Linked DNA regions of Homo sapiens: regions 2 and 3 are each linked to region 1. The links are contacts of gene promoters, found by promoter capture Hi-C in blood cells and fetal thymus (Javierre and others, 2016). All regions are on one chromosome and are shown on one strand. The core of a region is centred on a gene start or on the middle of the fragment in contact, and the rest is flanking DNA. Distances in the headings are between cores, read along the strand shown.

What was found. The method cuts DNA at HindIII sites, captures the fragments that hold promoters and counts their contacts. A CHiCAGO score of 5 or more calls a contact.
Region 2: a contact is called between a fragment that was not itself captured here and the fragment with the promoter of GAPDH in region 1, in 1 of 17 cell types (naive CD8 T cells). The highest score is 5.0, in naive CD8 T cells.
Region 3: a fragment that was not itself captured here is called in contact with the fragment with the promoter of GAPDH in region 1 in 1 of 17 cell types (activated CD4 T cells); the score reaches 5.2 in activated CD4 T cells.

Annotation. Positions count from the first base shown.
Region 1 is chr12:6,531,620-6,536,673 of GRCh38, forward strand. GAPDH (glyceraldehyde-3-phosphate dehydrogenase) reads left to right here and starts at 2,898. Exons shown (of 9, transcript NM_002046.7): 1 at 2,898-2,950; 2 at 3,191-3,242; 3 at 4,875-4,974. The coding sequence starts at 3,214. GAPDH-DT (GAPDH divergent transcript) reads right to left here and starts at 2,788. Exons shown (of 2, transcript XR_002957397.2): 1 at 1,845-2,788; 2 at 297-1,524. NCAPD2 (non-SMC condensin I complex subunit D2) reads left to right here. Exons shown (of 32, transcript NM_014865.4): 32 at 1-336. RefSeq lists enhancers at 1,040-1,169, 1,130-1,903, 1,904-2,677, 2,678-3,451, 5,000-5,054 and silencers at 2,080-2,329, 3,050-3,189. The HindIII fragment of the contact is 4,237 bases long and covers 351-4,587 here.
Region 2 is chr12:5,983,541-5,988,594 of GRCh38, forward strand. It overlaps VWF (von Willebrand factor), which reads right to left. Exons shown (of 52, transcript NM_000552.5): 39 at 2,023-2,125; 40 at 1,505-1,579. Among named protein-coding and RNA genes, the nearest start is that of ANO2, 41 kb to the left of the region's middle. The HindIII fragment of the contact is 7,184 bases long and covers 1-5,054 here.
Region 3 is chr12:7,055,835-7,060,888 of GRCh38, forward strand. It overlaps C1S (complement C1s), which reads left to right and starts at 4,884. Exons shown (of 12, transcript NM_001734.5): 1 at 4,884-5,043. RefSeq lists enhancers at 4,471-4,972, 4,973-5,054. The HindIII fragment of the contact is 386 bases long and covers 1,847-2,232 here.

The DNA of each region.
Region 1 (5,054 bases), core at 1,648-4,147:
ACATGGAGAAACCCCATCTCTACTAAAAATAAAAAATTAGCCGGGCGTATTGGCGTGCGCCTGTAATCCCAGCTACTCAAGAGGCTGAGGCAGGAGAATCGCCTGAACCCAGAGGCGGAGGTTGTAGTGAGCCGAAATCACACCATTGCACTCCAGCTTGGGCAACAATAGCGAACCTCCATCTCAAATTAAAAAAAAAATGCCTACACGCTCTTTAAAATGCAAGGCTTTCTCTTAAATTAGCCTAACTGAACTGCGTTGAGCTGCTTCAACTTTGGAATATATGTTTGCCAATCTCCTTGTTTTCTAATGAATAAATGTTTTTATATACTTTTAGACATTTTTTCCTAAGCTTGTCTTTGTTTCATCTTTCACATTAGCCCAGTTTCATGCAGCAGAGAGAGGGTTATCAGTGCAGAGAGAGATGAGTGAGCCCAGAGTCCTAGGGCCTGTCCCGGGATGGCAGATGAGCTTCCTGCCCCGTCACTGCCACCTTTCCCCTCTCAACCTCTGGACCCTGCACAGTGACCAGACAGCCTCTCTGGGGAGAATTATGCAGTGCCTAGGCTCCAGATCAGTGCTTCTGAACCGGGGGCAATTTTGTCTGCCAGAGGACATCTGACAACACCTGGGGCCTGTTTTGTTGTCATAGCCTATAGGGGAAGAATGCTACCAGCATTTGTGGGAAGAGGCCAGGGATGTGGCTCAACATCCTGCAGTGCACAGGATGGCCCCTCAACAAAGAATCACACGGCCCACAATGTCAATAGCGTCACAGTTGAGAAAACCTGCTCTAGACCAAGGGTTGCTTTCTGCCGTGTGCCTCACCCCACCCCCACTCGTGTTCCCTAATCCCATCTCCAAAGGTTGGCAGCAGACCGGCCCAGGCTCGTGGAAGTTCAGATCATGATCCCCTCCAGCTCTGCAGGAGACAAGACCTGTCTCCCAGCATTCCTCATTGTTCCCGGGTCTGCAGAGGGCGTGAGCTATGCTGCAGGCGGGCTGCCCCCTGAAGCCTGCGCACCCCTCTCCAGCTCCTCAAGTCTTCTCTGCTGAGTCACCTTCGAACCGGAGGCTGTGAGCTGGCTGTCGTGACCACACTGGTGCCTCTGCTGTCATGACAACAGCACACTACGTCAGTAGTGCTCCCTGGGCACTGAGCTCCCTCTTTGCGGGGAGAAGACAGTAATGAAAAATGACAAGCATGAGGCAGAGGGGAAGATCACGCTTGGGTGGTGCAGGAGCATGGAGGTGCTCTTAATGCTCTCAATGAGAAAGGGTTAACGGTCCTGGTTGCAGGAATAGCTGAGTCAGAGGTGGGGCTTCCTCCACTCCCCCACCCCACCCCTTTCACCATTAGGGACCTTCTTGCCTTGCTCTTGCTACTCTGCTCTGGGTGGTCATTGTGAAAAGCCCGCACCAACCATGCCAGTGGCAGCCAGACGAGGACACAGCCTGGCTCTGGGTCCCAGCAGGAAAGGCAATCCCAGAAAGGCAGGGTCAGGGACTGGAGTCCTGTGGGTGCTTTTTAAGCAAAGATTATCACCAGGCAGGCTAAACTTAGCAACCGGCTTTTAGCTAGAAGGGCAGGGGGCTGGTGTCAGGTTATGCTGGGCCAGCAAAGAGGCCCGGGATCCCCCTCCCATGCACCTGCTGATGGGCCAAGGCCACCCCACCCCACCCCCTTCCTTACAAGTGTTCAGCACCCTCCCATCCCACACTCACAAACCTGGCCCTCTGCCCTCCTACCAGAAGAATGGATCCCCTGTGGGAGGGGGCAGGGGACCTGTTCCCACCGTGTGCCCAAGACCTCTTTTCCCACTTTTTCCCTCTTCTTGACTCACCCTGCCCTCAATATCCCCCGGCGCAGCCAGTGAAAGGGAGTCCCTGGCTCCTGGCTCGCCTGCACGTCCCAGGGCGGGGAGGGACTTCCGCCCTCACGTCCCGCTCTTCGCCCCAGGCTGGATGGAATGAAAGGCACACTGTCTCTCTCCCTAGGCAGCACAGCCCACAGGTTTCCAGGAGTGCCTTTGTGGGAGGCCTCTGGGCCCCCACCAGCCATCCTGTCCTCCGCCTGGGGCCCCAGCCCGGAGAGAGCCGCTGGTGCACACAGGGCCGGGATTGTCTGCCCTAATTATCAGGTCCAGGCTACAGGGCTGCAGGACATCGTGACCTTCCGTGCAGAAACCTCCCCCTCCCCCTCAAGCCGCCTCCCGAGCCTCCTTCCTCTCCAGGCCCCCAGTGCCCAGTGCCCAGTGCCCAGCCCAGGCCTCGGTCCCAGAGATGCCAGGAGCCAGGAGATGGGGAGGGGGAAGTGGGGGCTGGGAAGGAACCACGGGCCCCCGCCCGAGGCCCATGGGCCCCTCCTAGGCCTTTGCCTGAGCAGTCCGGTGTCACTACCGCAGAGCCTCGAGGAGAAGTTCCCCAACTTTCCCGCCTCTCAGCCTTTGAAAGAAAGAAAGGGGAGGGGGCAGGCCGCGTGCAGCCGCGAGCGGTGCTGGGCTCCGGCTCCAATTCCCCATCTCAGTCGTTCCCAAAGTCCTCCTGTTTCATCCAAGCGTGTAAGGGTCCCCGTCCTTGACTCCCTAGTGTCCTGCTGCCCACAGTCCAGTCCTGGGAACCAGCACCGATCACCTCCCATCGGGCCAATCTCAGTCCCTTCCCCCCTACGTCGGGGCCCACACGCTCGGTGCGTGCCCAGTTGAACCAGGCGGCTGCGGAAAAAAAAAAGCGGGGAGAAAGTAGGGCCCGGCTACTAGCGGTTTTACGGGCGCACGTAGCTCAGGCCTCAAGACCTTGGGCTGGGACTGGCTGAGCCTGGCGGGAGGCGGGGTCCGAGTCACCGCCTGCCGCCGCGCCCCCGGTTTCTATAAATTGAGCCCGCAGCCTCCCGCTTCGCTCTCTGCTCCTCCTGTTCGACAGTCAGCCGCATCTTCTTTTGCGTCGCCAGGTGAAGACGGGCGGAGAGAAACCCGGGAGGCTAGGGACGGCCTGAAGGCGGCAGGGGCGGGCGCAGGCCGGATGTGTTCGCGCCGCTGCGGGGTGGGCCCGGGCGGCCTCCGCATTGCAGGGGCGGGCGGAGGACGTGATGCGGCGCGGGCTGGGCATGGAGGCCTGGTGGGGGAGGGGAGGGGAGGCGTGTGTGTCGGCCGGGGCCACTAGGCGCTCACTGTTCTCTCCCTCCGCGCAGCCGAGCCACATCGCTCAGACACCATGGGGAAGGTGAAGGTCGGAGTCAACGGGTGAGTTCGCGGGTGGCTGGGGGGCCCTGGGCTGCGACCGCCCCCGAACCGCGTCTACGAGCCTTGCGGGCTCCGGGTCTTTGCAGTCGTATGGGGGCAGGGTAGCTGTTCCCCGCAAGGAGAGCTCAAGGTCAGCGCTCGGACCTGGCGGAGCCCCGCACCCAGGCTGTGGCGCCCTGTGCAGCTCCGCCCTTGCGGCGCCATCTGCCCGGAGCCTCCTTCCCCTAGTCCCCAGAAACAGGAGGTCCCTACTCCCGCCCGAGATCCCGACCCGGACCCCTAGGTGGGGGACGCTTTCTTTCCTTTCGCGCTCTGCGGGGTCACGTGTCGCAGAGGAGCCCCTCCCCCACGGCCTCCGGCACCGCAGGCCCCGGGATGCTAGTGCGCAGCGGGTGCATCCCTGTCCGGATGCTGCGCCTGCGGTAGAGCGGCCGCCATGTTGCAACCGGGAAGGAAATGAATGGGCAGCCGTTAGGAAAGCCTGCCGGTGACTAACCCTGCGCTCCTGCCTCGATGGGTGGAGTCGCGTGTGGCGGGGAAGTCAGGTGGAGCGAGGCTAGCTGGCCCGATTTCTCCTCCGGGTGATGCTTTTCCTAGATTATTCTCTGGTAAATCAAAGAAGTGGGTTTATGGAGGTCCTCTTGTGTCCCCTCCCCGCAGAGGTGTGGTGGCTGTGGCATGGTGCCAAGCCGGGAGAAGCTGAGTCATGGGTAGTTGGAAAAGGACATTTCCACCGCAAAATGGCCCCTCTGGTGGTGGCCCCTTCCTGCAGCGCCGGCTCACCTCACGGCCCCGCCCTTCCCCTGCCAGCCTAGCGTTGACCCGACCCCAAAGGCCAGGCTGTAAATGTCACCGGGAGGATTGGGTGTCTGGGCGCCTCGGGGAACCTGCCCTTCTCCCCATTCCGTCTTCCGGAAACCAGATCTCCCACCGCACCCTGGTCTGAGGTTAAATATAGCTGCTGACCTTTCTGTAGCTGGGGGCCTGGGCTGGGGCTCTCTCCCATCCCTTCTCCCCACACACATGCACTTACCTGTGCTCCCACTCCTGATTTCTGGAAAAGAGCTAGGAAGGACAGGCAACTTGGCAAATCAAAGCCCTGGGACTAGGGGGTTAAAATACAGCTTCCCCTCTTCCCACCCGCCCCAGTCTCTGTCCCTTTTGTAGGAGGGACTTAGAGAAGGGGTGGGCTTGCCCTGTCCAGTTAATTTCTGACCTTTACTCCTGCCCTTTGAGTTTGATGATGCTGAGTGTACAAGCGTTTTCTCCCTAAAGGGTGCAGCTGAGCTAGGCAGCAGCAAGCATTCCTGGGGTGGCATAGTGGGGTGGTGAATACCATGTACAAAGCTTGTGCCCAGACTGTGGGTGGCAGTGCCCCACATGGCCGCTTCTCCTGGAAGGGCTTCGTATGACTGGGGGTGTTGGGCAGCCCTGGAGCCTTCAGTTGCAGCCATGCCTTAAGCCAGGCCAGCCTGGCAGGGAAGCTCAAGGGAGATAAAATTCAACCTCTTGGGCCCTCCTGGGGGTAAGGAGATGCTGCATTCGCCCTCTTAATGGGGAGGTGGCCTAGGGCTGCTCACATATTCTGGAGGAGCCTCCCCTCCTCATGCCTTCTTGCCTCTTGTCTCTTAGATTTGGTCGTATTGGGCGCCTGGTCACCAGGGCTGCTTTTAACTCTGGTAAAGTGGATATTGTTGCCATCAATGACCCCTTCATTGACCTCAACTACATGGTGAGTGCTACATGGTGAGCCCCAAAGCTGGTGTGGGAGGAGCCACCTGGCTGATGGGCAGCCCCTTCATACCCTCACGT
Region 2 (5,054 bases), core at 241-2,740, 550 kb before region 1:
ATGGATGATAGATAGAGGATAGATGATAGATACACAGCTTAGAGAGAGATAGGATAGATGATAAAACATAGGGTAGATAGACAGATAGATATAGAATAGATGATAGATACATATGTTAGACAGAGATAGGATAGATGATAGATACATAGGTTAGATAGAGATAGGATAGATTATAAATAGATACACAGGTTAGATAGATTAGACAGACAGATAGATACATACATAGATATAGGATAGATAACTAGATACAATAGAGATAGATAGATAGATAGATAGATGATAGAGGATAGATGATAAATAGATATATAGCTTAGATAGAGATAGGATAGATGATAGATACATAGGATAGATAGAGACAGGATAGATGATAAATAGATACATAGGTTAGATAGAGATAGGACAGATGATAAATACATAGGATGGATGGATAGATGGATAGATAGATAGATAGATAGATAGATAGATAGATAGATAGATAGACAGACAGACAGACAGACAGATAGATCAATCCAAGTCACATACTGATTATTCTTATCATCCACTAGGGCTTTCACATCTCAGCCAAGTCAACTTGGATCCTCTAGACCTGTTTCTTCTTCTGGAAGGTGGGAACTCTACCTTATAGGATCAGTCTGAGGAGTTCACAAAATAATAAGGGCAAAGTGCCCGGCACATTGTAGGAGACTAGTAATGTCTATAAAATGAGGGGCTTGAAGTAAATGATCCCTCTAGTTCTCTCTACTGCTAACATTCTAAGACCTCCTTTACATTAATTGTTCTCAAGCCACATCTCCCTCCCCTACAGGACTTCTATTTATTTCTGATCAATTTCATGAGTACAAATAAGTTTCTCCGATTATATGATTTTCTTTTAGTTCCTTGGACTGTCCCCTGATCTATCTGCTCTCCCTTCAATATCTGCATCACTGCAAATTGTACAAGCCTGTGCTTTAGGTCTTCATCTGTACAAGCAATAAACACACTGGACAGGACTGGGACAAAGGCACTAATGATTTCCTGCCATGCTAACCGTAATTCCATCAGCTCTGAATTCACGGACTTATACCATTATTCAGCCCACTATTCACAGAGCAGCCTGCAAGGCTAGCATGAAAACCTCTAGCAAACAACCTGCTGAACTCAAGGTGCCCAGTGTGTGGTCTTCTCTATATCTAGCAGCCTCAAAATCTTATTGAAAATGAAAATGGGTTGCTTTGGCATGACCTTTTCTTCAGTATATCTCCATAGTCCCCAGTAATCACCCCATTCTTGTATTAATCCTGTCAAACCTGTGTTTAGTAATTTACAGTAGATTCTTCTAGGAAGCAAATCCTATTCTCCAGAGGTAACCCTTTCCACTTTTTTGGAGTATCCAGTCGGTCCTTACCCACCTCCTTTCACACACCCTGTGCCTGAGAACAGAGACACCTTTCAGCACCTTCAACGTGGTGCCCCCTGGGGCTAGGGTTGGGCCCTGGAGACATCCCCCTGGTGGGACACATACCACACTCATACTCGGGGCAGCACTGGTCTGCATTCTGGCGGAGGCGGGCTACTTCACACAGGCCACACGTGGGAGCTAGAGGAGAGGAACGGCCACAAAAGTCAGAGAAATTAGTGGTGGGACAGCCTCAGAGGGATTTGAAATGTTCTTGCTCACTGAAAACTAGTAGGAGTTCTGTACGGTCATCCCACAAGGATCCAGGCCACGGGACCTCTGACAGATGAGTGTCCCCATGTTCCTGTTGACACCCTCACATTTACCCTCCAGGGGACTCTTAAGTCTGACCGTTGCTGGGGACCAGAGGCGAGGGTTAATCTGAGAATGTCGACCCCAGGTGCAGAATGGGGCTCCCAGGCCCAGTGATGGGAAATGCAGGCTGGGCAAGGAAGCCCACCCACTCTAGGACTCTAGGTGCCAGTGTTTGAGTCTGCTCTGCCAGAGGTGAAGATGGGTGGCTGGGGGGCCTTGCAGGGGCCCTTGTTCCTCCATGAAGGCACCAGGGAGGGGAGGACTCTCACCTTTGGCCGTGGGGCAGGGCTGCGTTGTGCAGTTGACCTTCCGCCCGCTGAGGCATGTGCAGATCTGACAGGGCTGGTGGTCCGGGACCCAGGCTTCCAGGAACTGAGGGCAAAGCGAGGTTCAGAAAGGGCACAGGACATTCTAGGTACGAAGCCCAGAATTCACAGAGGTCAGCTCTCCCTGCCTCCGGCAAGGGCCAGTCCCTGACCCAGCCCTCTGACAGAGCCTCACAGGCAAACAAAAGCAGGCTGAAAGGAGGTTGTGAGGTTCTAATGGCTTTCAGAAAGGTGGTTGCCACATTGCTTTGTAAACTAACATGCGGAAATTTTCACTACAGCCTTCTCTGTTGGCAGTGCTAAAACCAAGCAAAGAAAGAAAAATGAGAGTTCTTGGATCGCACTGCTAGTCATTTCTCAAGCCAAAGGAGAAATTGGGTTGTTGCTTGGGGAAAAAAATCCATTTATTTCTGAAATTGACTTCAGACAATAGGGTAGGAAGAGCGGTGGGGAGGACAGCAAAACTCTTGAAAGCATCACATTCTTGATGCCCGCAGTGACTTTAGAGGCCTGAGTGCAGTTCTCTGATTTTTCAAATGGGAGACGGCCCAGGGCAGAGAGCAGCCTTCTCGAAGGTACACACAGCCCCACAGCACAAGGCTTTGAAGTCAGGAACTCCTGAACTCTAACAAAGGCTGCATTCCGCTGTGCCTCAGTTTCCTCACCTGTAAAATGAGCGTACTCAAGCCTGCCTTGCAGGACTGTTGTAAGGAGTGAGAAACTGTGATTAGCACAGGGTACACAGCAAAGAGCTCCACTAATAAGAAGCAGAGCCAGGACTCAGTCTCCCTCTGGATTCAGCCATAAAGTTAAATTTAAACTTAAAATTAAATTCAAGTGAAATTGCCCCTGAAGAAACACATTCTTATCCAGTAGCTCAAAGGCCTCTAAGAAGTTCCCAGGTCAAGAAGGTCTTACTTATTACTTCCACAGTCAGCAATCAGTCAGCTAAGAAGGAAGATCAAATACCCACAAGTAAGGCCCCCTTCCCCCAAAGTGCCCTGCCCTCCTTCAGGATTAACCCCTCTGGTCCTGCCCTTGACACCTTTCACTCACTCAATAAATGATAGCAGCTAACATTCAGATGCCACCTGCTGTGTGCCACTGTGTTGAGGACTTTATTTAAATCACTCATGTAATCCTCACTGCAGTCCTACGGTGAGGATATGTTTTACCACTGCCCTCACTTTTCCAATGAGAAAGCTAAGGCACCTGCTAGGTTCCCACAGGCACAGCGACAGAGTGAGGATTTGAATCCAAATCCATGGTTTGTTTCTTTGTTATTTTATGTTTTGGTTTTTGTTTGTTTGTTTGTTTGTTTGTTTTGAGACAGAGTCGCACTCTCTCGCCTAGACTGCAGTGCAGTGGCATGATCTCGGCTCATTGCAACCTCTGCCTCCCGAGTTTAAGTGATTCTCCTGCCTCAGCCTCCCAAATAGTTGGGACTATAGGCATGTGCCACCATACCCAGCTAATTTTTGTATTTTAGTAGAGACAGGATTTCACCATGTTGGCCAGGCTGGGTCTCGAATTCCTGACCTCAAGTGATCCACCTGCCTCAGCCTCCCAAAGTGCTGGGATTACAGGTGTGAGCCACTATGCCCGGCCCAAATCCATGGTTTTAAACCACCATGCTCTGCTGCCTCCCACAGGTAACTAATAATAAATATGTTCAAGATATTTTTCTAAGAGTTTTACATTTATGTACTTTATTTTCCTAATAATAACACTACCAGATAAGTAGTAGTATCTATATTTACAAATAATGAAACTGAGACACCAAGAAGTTAAGAAATTTGACCAAGTGGCACATCCAGGCTTCGAACTTAGCATTCTGGCCCCAGACACCACAGGCCTAGCCTCTTGCAGCACAACTGCTTCTCATCAACAGACACAGTGCCCATCGTGGGCAGGTCTGAACACACCATCCTAGCCCTCGAATGGCTGACAGTCAGGTTGAGGAAATAAGACTCATTCGTGAAAATCTGAATGAGAAAAATAAATTGTGATACACACACACCGTGGAATACCACCTAGCAATGAGAAGGAGAAAACTATCAAAACAGACAGCATCATGGATGAATCCCAAAAGCGTTATGCTGGGTGAAGGAAGCCAGGCAGAAAAGAAGTGCGTAGGCATGATTCCATTTATGTGAAATTCCAGAAAATGTAAACGAATCTATAGTGACAGAAAGCAGACCAGTAGTTGTCTAGGGTTGAGGGATATATTTAAAAGGGCATAAGCTAACCTTTGGGGGATGGAAATTCATTATCTTGGTTATGTCAATGGTTTTATAGGTGTGTACATATGTCAAAACCTATCAAATTGTACACTTTAAATATGTGCTGTTTGTGGCATGTAAATTATATCTCAATAAAGCTATTTGTAAAAATAAAAAATAAAAGAGCAGTAAGAGTGCAAAAGGAGAGTCCACTAAGATTGGGCACTCCAGAGAGTCTCACAAGGGTGCACCTATGAAGCACAGGAAGACTTGGGCAAAGGGGAAAGGAGGAGGAATTCCAGGTGGGAAACAGCTAACAAAGGCACAGACGAAGGAACACTCCCGCAGTGCCCGGCATCACAGGTGAGGCAGGTGGCTGAAGACAATGGAGGAGGCCCTGCCTCACAGAGAAGAGCTAAATAAAGACAACCCTGGCGACAGCATGCAGGACGGAAAAGGGAAGGACTAGGAATAAAAACCAGAAAAGACACAGCGGCTGCCACTCCAGCTGGGAAGGTGGAGGGAGGGGCCCAGGGCGCTGGCCTCGGAGGGCTGGGGCAGGGGGTCGAATTGGCAGACATGAGGGGATGCGGAAGGAGAGAGTCATGTTCTGTATATGTTTCAGTGTTCTTTTTTCTCTCCTTTTAAACGCAGACCTCAGATATTTAAACTCAAGAATAAATCACACAATTTTCCAACTATCCTGAGAATGGGTAACACACAACAGATGACCAAAAGCAGGTGTCCAACCTC
Region 3 (5,054 bases), core at 790-3,289, 520 kb after region 1:
GGTGTTTAAGTTCACAGGACATAGACTTTTTTTTTTGACAGGGTCTCACTCTATTGCCCAGGCTGGAGTGCAGTGGTGTGATCACAGCTCATTGCAGCCTTGACCTCCAGGGCTCAAGTGATCCTCCCACCTCAGCCTCCTGAGTAGCTGGGACTACAGACATGCTCTAGCATGCCTGGCATTCTTTCTTTTTTTTGTGGAGATAGGGTCTCACCATGTTGCCCAGGCTGATCTCAAACTCCTGAACTCAAGCAACCCTCCTGCTTTGGCCTCCTAAAGTATTGGTATTACAGGTGTGAGCCACCACACCTGGCCCACAGGACATGGATTCTGAACAACTGGCATAAATCGACTGGCCTCAAGGTAAGGTTTTAAACTAAGCTTAAGCTTTTCTGTTGCCCTCAGATACCACTGAATTTCTTCTTCAGATTTTGGTGACATTAAGTGGTGGTTTCTGGAAATACAATTTTAATTTTGCTTGGGATGATTGTCTTGGGGTCTGGGGATAGCTCATTTTCTAAATTTTGTGGTTGTGGGGCTGGTGTTGCAATATTCTTGTGTCTCATTAACTTTCTGGAATTTTAAAAACAGACTCATGGAAGGTTTGCCTCAGAACTCAGTCTTTGAAGCCTTGGAGGAACTAACCTGTTCCAGCCCAGGCCGCAGCTTCGGAAGGGACCACAGCTCTGCCCAGGGATTGGAAACCCACTAGCTGGGATTAAACAGAACACAAATTGGAACTGATAGTTTTGTGACTTTAACATAGACACTTTGGGCTTCAATTACTTTTGACTTTAATGTCATAGTTTCAGTTTGCAATGGGATTTGAACTTTAATTTTGGAGTTTGATTAATGGGAGGGTTATTTGTTGTTCAAATTTGAAAATGGGAGGGTTATTTGTTGTTCAAAACCTTTATTGTTGGCAATCCCTTGTTGGAGCTTCTTAATACCATCATTTAATCTCATTGTGGATCTCCGATAGCTACTTAGATAACATGGCTGCATGAAATTTTATTTTATTTATTTTTGAGACAGGGTCTCACTCTGTTGCCCAGGCTGGAGTGCAGTGGTGTGATCATAGCTCATTGCAGCCTCAAAATCCTGGGCTCAAGTTATCCTCCTCCCTTGGCCTCCTGAGTAGCTGGGACTACAAGTGCGTGCCACTATGCCTGACTAATTTTTTGACTTTTTGTAGAGATGAAATCTTGCTATGTTCCCCAGGCTGGTCTTGAACTCCTGGCATCAAGTGATCCTCTCTTTTTGGTCTACCAAAGTGCTGGGATTACAGCACTTTGGCATGAGCCACTATGCCTGACCAATGAAATTTGAGGTGGGAAACGGAGCACCCAGGCTGAAGTGCAATGCTGTGGTCATAGCTCACTGCAGGCTTGAACTCCTGGGCTCAAGCAATCCTCCTGCCTCTCAGCCTCCTGAGTAGCTGGGACCACAGGATGGCTAATTTTTAAACTTTTTTGTAGAGATGAGGTCTCCCTATGTTGCCTAGGCTGGTCTTGAACTCCCAGCCTCAAGCGATCCTCCCGCCTCAGCCTTCTGAGTTGCTGGGATTACAGGTGTGAGCCACTGCTCCTGGCAATGTATTTCAATTTCGTGGCAAAATTGCAGAAATGAACATAAAACACAGGTGAGGATAGGAGAGTCTAACTTTTCTGGCAAGATCGGGCAGTGTTGAGCTCCAAGGAAAAGGAGAAGGAACCCTGGACACATTGATAAGGCGTCCTCTTTTCCTTGGTATTAACTGAAGCATGCTCTTGATGGGGAGGAAGCTGCTGCTACTGCTGCCGTGTTTGGTGTTTGGAGAAGTTAATATGGTTTGTTATTTGTTAAAAGCTTACTGAGTACCAGGTATATGCTGAATGCTTAGCATACGTTATTTTGTTTAATCTTGGCCACAATGGGCCCTGACAGTGATAGCTGTGTCTGAAGTAGGTGCTATTATTCCCATTTTACACCTGATAAAGCTGGAGCTCAGAGAGGCATAGTAACTTTTTCAAGGTCACACGGCTAAAATGAAAGGTAATGAATGGTTTGAATTCACTTTGGCACATTCAATCAACCAATCCTCAGATACTCACTGAGCGTGTTGTATCAGCCATTATTTTTAGTTGCAAGCAGTAGAAACCAACTCTGGCTGAGTTTAGCAGAAGATGAATTTATTAAAGGGACCCTGGATTGCTCATGGAAATTCCAGGGGAGCTACAGAGCCATTGTGGAAGCTTCCCAGCAGGGACAATGGTCAGAACCTGGCTGCCGCTGCTGCCACTTCTTTGACCATGGCCTGGATGCTTCGGCTTGCAATGCTTACCCACTGGGGCTGGATGCTGGGTGCTGCTGAGAACTCTACCTCCTCTGTGATCTTGCTGTGGCCACCACTGTCCCTACAGGCTCTAGGGTCCCTGCTTCCTGGCATTACTGGCTCTGGATTGAAAGCCTGGGCCTCTGATGAATGGAACGTGTGTGCATGTGAAACTGCCTTTGCAAAGATGATGACAGTGAGGGAAGTCTAGCATGGGTGACTCCATCTTGCCTCTACCCTCACAGGCTGGCTGTCCTCACTCATTCCTGGGCATAGGCCAAGCTAACCATGGGAGGAATTTAGTTTACAGTTTAACTCTGAAGCAAAGATGATATTAGTCCCTCCCTAAAATGAACCCCCTCCTAGCTCAGGGACCTGCCTTTGTAAAACTAATGAAAGGCCACAAGATTAGGATTATGGGAGGGGCTTGAATTTTGCTAAGATGTGGGTGTAGCTAACCGATGACCAGCCATTGACCCCTAGCTTGCCTTTCTATAATCCTTTGCTGCTCAGGAGTCATGCGGCCAGAGGTCACAAGATCTGTGACTTCCCCAATTGCTCCTATAGATAACATCACTATTGTAAAACCAAATATTGGTCTTCTGAGATATTTTTCAGACTTTTGCATTCTGAAATGATTCATGACTCAACTGGTCCTGTGACCCCCACCCAGAGGTGGACTTAGTGCACAAGGTCTGTTTTCTACACTCCTATGATTTTATCCCCAACGAATCAGTAGCACCCATTCTCTGCTCTTACCGCCCACCAAATTCTCCTTAAGAACCCTAGCCTCTGAGTTCTTGTGGGGACTGATTTGAGAAATAAACTCCCATCCTTTCACTTGGCTAGCTCTGTGTTGTTAAACTCTTTCTCTACTGCAATACCATGGTCTCAGTGAATTGGTTTTGTCTACGCAGCAGGCAGGAAGAACCCTTCGGGTGATTACAAATTAGCCTGCTCCAGAGCTGCTGGAGGTGGGGGTGACACACTTCTTGTGCCTGTGTCTTCTTTCTTGGGAGGTCGGCTCTGTTCCCAAGACTGATATCATGGGGAACTCCTCTAATGTGGCAAAGCAGTTTGAATGCTGGGCAGCCAGGGGAGTCACAGATGGTTGCATACACATCTGTGTTCTGCATGACACTGCTAGACATGGCGGACAATACCAAGACGGATCAGACCCAGCACCTGTCTTCCGAGACCTTACGGGCTCATGATTCTCTTCCTTTTAACATGCACATTTATTAGGTACCATAGTGTGCAAAGCTTGTTCACTCGAATTATTTCATTAGGTCCATCTGATAGTCATGTAGGGTAGGCAGAACTGATAGGATTTCTGTTTTATATTTGAAGAAACTAGGTCTGTCAATAGTGAGCCAGGTTTAAAAAAAAAAAGAAACTAGGAAGTTAGGTGATGAGCCTAAGACATCACCACTGGTGAGGAGCAGAGCTGGGACATGAGCCTATCTTCTGACTCCAGGCCCAGTGCTAAGCCAACTAAAGGGGCATAAAGGGGAGCTGAGATCAGGGAAGGCTCTGTGGAGTGGCACTGCCCCTCAGTCCCTTGTCTGCAATTCTAAAATCCAAAGGACTCTGAAAACAAAGTCTCTGTCTTTTTTTTGTAATGGGATCTCATTCTGTTGCCCAGGCTGGAGTGCAGTGGTGCCCTCTGCAGCCTCGACCTCCCTGGCACAAGTGATCCTCTTGCCTCAGCCTCCTGAGTAGCTGGGACTACAGGCGTGTGTCACAATACCTGGCTATTGTTTTTTGTTTGTTTGTTTTCAAGTTTGGGACTAAAACTCAATTTGGCAGCAAAACCTGACCCGAACTGATGTGATTTGTAATCTTTAGTTATCCATTTACCGTAAGATCAATGTGTTTAGCTGCAGAAATCTTAATGTTTGTTAATAGGGGGTTATCCTGGTCCATAAAGGGAGGGAGAGGAGGAGGTGTTACCTAATATTGGGTCCATGGACTACATAGCCTAAAAAAATCTATAAAATTTCAAAACACACCTGGCTTCAAGGGTTATGGATAAGGGAGTCTGGGTTGGATCTGAAAGGGGGCTTGGTTGTGGGGTAGAATTTCGATGTTTGGAAGGGATGTGGAGGGATGTTATGAAGAGGAAGCCTCACGCCATACCACCTTGGGTCTTGGTGTTAAGTCATTATCAACCATTACATTTGCTTTAAAGCAGAGATGACTTACATTTCTGATAACTACTTTCCCTTAATTCATGATTCACACACATTTGGAGGGCTGGACTTTCTGGGTTTGGTTATTTCCCCTGGTACCAATCCCCGCCTTTTCCCAGAAATCACTTGACTTTCCCGAAAACTCAGAAACACACCCTTTGGCTGAAAAATAGCATTAAGCAATCGGTGAAATTCCCCATTCCTCCTTTCCCCGCTGGAGCCCTGGATAGAGGGCTCTCTGGCCTGGGAGGAGGACGCTGTCCTTGTTTCAAAAGCAGAGGGAGCTCCAAGATCAAGGCTGAGTTTCCCTAAGTCATGGTCTCCCAGCCCCCTCTGTTTAGATCAGGGAATTTCAGACATGCACACTCGGGTAGGGAATCTTATGAACAGAACCAGGACAGGGAGGCTGGCCGGAGGTTCCTGCAGAGGGAGCGTCAAGGCCCTGTGCTGCTGTCCCTGGGGGCCAGAGGGGTTGCCCAGCATGCCCACTGGCAGGAGAGAGGGAACTGACCCACTTGCTCCTACCAGCTTCTGAAGGTAAAATCCTT